2 separate regions of the Homo sapiens genome follow, and region 1 is linked to region 2. Evidence: promoter capture Hi-C in 16 types of primary human blood cells and fetal thymus (Javierre and others, 2016). All regions are on one chromosome and are shown on one strand. The core of a region is centred on a gene start or on the middle of the fragment in contact, and the rest is flanking DNA. Distances in the headings are between cores, read along the strand shown. Region 1 holds the start of PDXP (pyridoxal phosphatase). Region 2 holds the start of JOSD1 (Josephin domain containing 1).

The links. Contacts are between HindIII fragments. The CHiCAGO score rates a contact against its expected background, and 5 or more counts as called.
Region 1: a contact is called between the fragment with the promoter of PDXP here and the fragment with the promoter of JOSD1 in region 2, in 1 of 17 cell types (fetal thymus). The highest score is 8.3, in fetal thymus.

Annotation. Positions count from the first base shown.
Region 1 is chr22:37,657,272-37,660,135 of GRCh38, forward strand. PDXP (pyridoxal phosphatase) reads left to right here and starts at 1,452. Exons shown (of 2, transcript NM_020315.5): 1 at 1,452-2,085. The coding sequence starts at 1,512. It overlaps PDXP-DT (PDXP divergent transcript), which reads right to left and starts at 1,106. Exons shown (of 6, transcript NR_109952.1): 1 at 984-1,106. RefSeq lists enhancers at 1,009-1,078, 1,089-1,138, 1,327-1,828, 2,655-2,864 and silencers at 1,329-1,638, 1,839-1,948. The HindIII fragment of the contact is 9,798 bases long and covers 1,103-2,864 here.
Region 2 is chr22:38,699,651-38,702,350 of GRCh38, forward strand. It overlaps JOSD1 (Josephin domain containing 1), which reads right to left and starts at 1,293. Exons shown (of 5, transcript NM_001360236.2): 1 at 1,150-1,293; 2 at 153-968. The coding sequence starts at 337. RefSeq lists a silencer at 800-1,759. The HindIII fragment of the contact is 4,284 bases long and covers 404-2,700 here.

The DNA.
Region 1 (2,864 bases), core at 202-2,701, 1.0 Mb before region 2:
CTCCGCCTCCTGGGTTCAAGCAATTCTCCTGCCTCAGCCTCCCGAGTAGCTGGGACTACAGGCACCCGCCACCACGCCTAGCTAATTTTTTTCTTTTTTTTTTTTTTTTTTTTTGTATTTTTAGTAGAGACGGGGTTTCACCGTAGCCAGGATGGTCTCGATCTCCTGACCTCGTGATCCGCCCACCTCAGCCTCCCAAAGTGCTGGGATTACAGGCGTGAGCCACCGAGCCCGGCCCTGAAGGTGAAATTTTTAAAGGAAAAAGGAACATTCAGGCCAAGGAGACTATCTATGCAAAGGCCAGGAGCAAAAGGCTTAGGGCACTTGGGGAATAGGAGCTAGTTGAGCTTCCAAGGTTGGGTACAAGGTACAGTTTTTCCCAAGTCGTTGGAGCTCCAGTTGCTCCTGGGGGTCACAGCCTTATCTGAAGTTGGCAGACAACTTCAAAACTGTGACACCACAGCTCACAATTCATTCATCCCCACACTGCAGACCAGTGGCTCCTCAAAGGTCCCAAGACCTGTGGTTGCTTCCAGATCACAAGGCCTCCTCCCTAAGACAGGGACCCAGCCAACCTGGGTCACCCCATTACTATTCTGGGCAATTGGCCACGACCATTCTGGATCCTGCCCTCCCGGGGCGTGCTGCAGTGACAGCCTACCAGCCTCTAGCCCAGTGCTTCCCTACCCTATCCTAGCTCACGGTAGAATCCCTGGAATTAAACCAACTAACCAACAAACCAAAAAATGCCCAGTCTTCACCCAAAACACTTACATGAGGATCTGTCCTGCTACACATCGGTGATTTCAAAAGCATTTGTCAAGACATTGAACTGTACATTTAAGATCTATGCATTTTACTATATGTAAATGATATCTGAAAATAAGTTCCCAGGGGACTCTAACGCAGTGTGAAGAACTACTGGTCTAGACCGAGGGCTCCAGCACCCAAGAAGACACCATGTGCCTCGTACCCCATCGTACACACACGTTTCTTGGGACTTCGCTCTGAACTGGAGCGTCCACGATTCAGGGGGCAATGAGATTCGACCCAAAGGCAGTTCATTTAACATCTGTTTTTCTCCCAGCAACCAGCTCGCCTAAGCTTCTGATTGGCTGGAGGGCACGGGGCCTTTCGCTTCGCGTTTTGTTTGTAGATTCTTATTGGTTAAGAAGAGCGTCAGTCTCCCACCGCGTAAGAGTGTAGTCGGCGTTGAAACTCGGCGGCGACTGGTCCAGCAGAACCAGGGACGGGGAGAAGGATCAAGCTAGCTCTTCATTGGTCCCTTCCCCTCGGTGTTGGCCACGAATCCGCCCCTCTCTCCAAGTTCCGTTAGCTCGCGGCTTCGCTCCTCTCCCAGACTCTCGCCCCCATTGGCTGCAGGCCACGCCGTCGCCCCGCCCCCCGGTCCTTCCAGCGCGCCAATTGGCGGCTGCGTGGAACGTGCCAGGGAGAGCGCGCCGTGCCCGCGGAGAGAGCGCGGCGCGGGAGGCCGGCGGCCGGCCGGCTGCATGGCGCGCTGCGAGAGGCTGCGCGGAGCGGCCCTGCGCGACGTGCTGGGCCGGGCGCAGGGGGTCCTGTTCGACTGTGACGGGGTGCTGTGGAACGGCGAGCGCGCCGTGCCGGGCGCCCCGGAGCTGCTGGAGCGGCTGGCGCGGGCCGGCAAGGCGGCTCTGTTTGTGAGCAACAACAGCCGGCGCGCGCGGCCCGAGCTGGCCCTGCGCTTCGCGCGCCTCGGCTTCGGGGGGCTGCGCGCCGAGCAGCTCTTCAGCTCCGCGCTGTGCGCCGCGCGCCTGCTGCGCCAGCGCCTGCCCGGGCCTCCGGACGCGCCGGGCGCCGTGTTCGTGCTGGGCGGCGAGGGGCTGCGCGCCGAGCTGCGCGCCGCGGGGCTGCGCCTGGCCGGGGACCCGAGCGCGGGGGACGGCGCGGCCCCGCGCGTGCGCGCCGTGCTTGTGGGCTACGACGAGCACTTCTCCTTCGCCAAGCTGAGGGAGGCGTGCGCGCACCTGCGCGACCCCGAGTGCCTACTCGTGGCCACCGACCGTGACCCATGGCACCCGCTGAGCGACGGCAGCCGGACCCCTGGTGAGCGCGGGAATGGCGGGGAAACTGAGATGGGGGCGACCTGCGCATTCGCCTCCACGCCTAAGGGTGAGGGGCGGGGAAGAGGCGTCTCCAGGTGGCAGGTGGGGAACAGGAGAGTGCGAGGGAGGCCCAGGGTGCTTTGGTGTGGGGGGCGGTTGATCCCTGTAGCCGTCATCCTGTGAGGCGCAGCAGTGTGGTCCCTGTTGGACAGATGAGGAAACTGAGGCCCTTTGTAACTTAGGGAGTTGGGCGGAATTCTGCCCTACCCACCATCGGGGTGGGGTTGGAGAGGAAGCCTGGGAGGATTGTCCCCCTGTGTGAGGGTTGAAACACCATTCCCAGAGGCAGGGTGTAGGCAGGTGTGTGGGGAGCAAAGGCGGTGGAGTTTGACCTCAGTTCCAGGTCCAGCTCCAGCTTCACAGCTGTGTAATCGTGTTCAGTTACATAACCTCCAAGCATCTCTGCCTGGGTGAGAAATGGCAGTGCTCAGCATGCCCGGTGACGGTGATCAGGGTGAGTGCCTGGCACATAGTAGGTGTTCAGATGATGTAAGTTGTAGCCAGAGTCCCCCATGTTACAGAGAACTTAATGAAACAGCTTTGTGTGTGTTCTTCTTTGGTTTCCAAATTACTCTGGAGATGGAAGTTATTGTCCCATTTCTCAAGTAAAGAGACTGAGGCAGCCGGATGCAGTGGCAACAGCCTGTAGTCCCAGCTACTCGAGAGGCTGAGGCGGGAGGATTGCTTGAGCCTAGGAGGTCAAGGCTGTAGCGTGCTATC
Region 2 (2,700 bases), core at 43-2,542:
TGATTATCTTTTCATGTCTTGTGTCCCTTATACCTGCTAACGCAATCTAGCTAATACCTACAGCTTTGAAGGTTTATGAAGCTGAGACACTGCCCCACCCACAGAAATCCAGAAATATCAGTATCAAGATGCCAAGGAGAAGGGTCCCCTACCTCTGGAAAATCTCTTGCAGCGTATCCCGGGTGAAGGCATTGCTGTCCTGGAAGACGTTATTGAGGGCGTGGAGGGCACAAAGCTCCCTGCGCTGTTTCTCATGGTAGATTTGTGGGGGTGCTGCCTGGGGCAGCTCCAATGATTCAGATTTGGCCTTGTCTCCTTTCCATGGCACACAACTCATGTTTTTTGTTTTAGGTTCCAGAGATGGCTATAAACACCCCACTCTTCCCTCTAGAGGAAGAATGTAAGCTTCTCAGTCTTTTCCGGATTCCTGAGGTCCACCTTATTCTCTGGTGTCCATGATTTATGCTTTGTCACTGGGAGAAAAGATTGGAATCAAAAGGAAAAAAATAAAACCCACCTCTTCTCTCTTCTCAATAGAAAAATAACTTTTGGATTACTTTTATTTTGCTACCACTGTCAAAGTGCAGAATTTAAAAAAACACATAAAATGTAAGACCTTGTTTCCGTTTCCCCACCCTTCCCTCCCACCCCCCTCCAAAATCCCCACGATTTTCTTGCTGTTTCCCTCTGCAAATGCCAGGCCTCAAAGCAGGAGGACCGAACACAATCGGTCACATCGCTCCTTTTCTTCCATTTCTTTTGAACCACGACGCCAATGACTCGGGAGACAAGGCCTGGGTGACGGATAAATTTAGCGCACGAGTCGAGTAGCTAGCGCGGGCCGGCAGGCGTGGGACCGCGAGCCGCGCGGGGGCCTCGGGGGCAGCCCTCCATCCCCTCGGGTACGGTGGGGCCCGCAGGGCGCGGCTCCCTCGGAAGGCGCGGATTCTAGCCCTCTGGCCGCGGCCCTGCGGAGGAGGAGACAACTCCGGTCAGCGGCGAGCGGGCGCGGGAAGTGAGCGGCGGGGCCGGCCCCTGCCCGAGGGAAGGTTCCGCGCGGCGAAGGGCTGGCCCGCGAGGGGTGGGGCCGGACAGTCAGCCTCGCGCTCCCGGGCCCGCGCCCACCCGGCTCGCAGCCCCTACACAAACCTCCCCGCCCGTCACGTGAGCGCAGGCCCAGACGCCCTCCCGCCGCGCCCCCGGCCGCAGACCCCAGGGCCGCCGGGACTGCTCGCCGCTGGCGGTCCCCTCACCGCAGCCGGCCGCCACCTGGAGTGCGCGCCGCCAACTGGGCCGTGCGGGCGGGCGCGCGCACCTGAGCCCGACGTCAGCGGCCCCCGCCCGGCGCGTGCTCCGGAAACGCCCTCCCGCGCCGTCCTCACTCCTCCCAGCCGTGGCGTCACGCCTGACGTAAGTCTGACGTCATCGGCACCGGCCTGGGAGCCGCAGACGCCGGGCGTGTAGGGGCGCAGTTCAACGGTTGGGGTGTTGCAAAGGCCGTGGGTGTGGGGCTGCGGGCTGCGCACCTCGGCGGCGGCCGGCAGGGTTGGGGTCCAGCCGCTCCGCTCGGCGCGGCCCCTGGCGGGGCGGCCTGAGGGAGTCCTACCTGGACGCCAGCCTGCCCTTCTCCCGGGCGTGGGCGTTGTTTCGGGGCGGCAGCCAGGCCAGCGGCTGCAGTCCGCGGCTTTCAGCACCCCTCCCTTCTCTGTGCCGGGCTTTTCGGCCGAACGTTCTCGCTCCTTCTGCGTTGACTGTTTTATGTGTGGTTAACGCGCGGCTCACCAGGGGGGATTTTGAAGCACCTGATTCGGTCGGGCGCAAATTGCCTTGGTTAGTGGGCCCGACCGTGCCGCACTGTCCAGGGAGCGTCAAGGGTAGGTGTCTCGCTGGGAGTCACATTTCAAGTGGAAAGGAGAATCCTGTTGCAGTTCCTTGGTGTCGCATTTCGGTTCACTACACACAAGCCACTGCCTTCTTGCCTGGGGGCTCCCCGCTCTTCTCACGGTGGCTTTCCTCTCTGCAGAGACCTCTGCGCGAGGTATACCTAAGCGCATTGTGTGCGTCTTCGGGAAAAGGCGAAAACTACTCGCAGTCCCACGTGGATTTCATTTTTTCCCCTTTACCTACTCTTAGGGTGCGTGGTAGGCATCATTATCCACCTTAGCTGCCCTTCTTTTGGGTTTTCTGTAAAACTGGAAAAACGAGAAGAAACTGTTGCACTTCAAATTTAGTTGTTTTGTTTTGTTTTTTGGAGACGGAGTTTCGCTCTTGTTGCCCAGACTGGAGTGCAATGGCATGATCTCCGCTCACCGCAACGTCCGCCTCCCGGGTTCAAGCAATTCTCCTGCCTCAGCCTCCCGAGTAGCTGGGATTGCAGGCATGCGCCACCACGCCCGGCTAATTTTGTGTGTTTAGTAGAGGGGTTTCTTCATGTTGGTCAGGCTGGTCTCGAACTCCCGACCTCAGGTGATCCACCCGCCTTGGCCTCCCAAGGTGTTGGGATTACAGAAGTGAGCCACCGTGCCCGGCCTTTTTTTTTTTTTTTTTTTTTAAGATGGAGTTTAACTTTTGTCGCCCAGGCTGAATTGCAACGGGGCGATCTCGGCTTACTGCAACCTTCACCTCCTGGACTCAAGCGATTCTCATGTCTCAGCCTCCCGCGTAGCTGGGATTACAGGCTCCTGCCACTACGCACGGCTA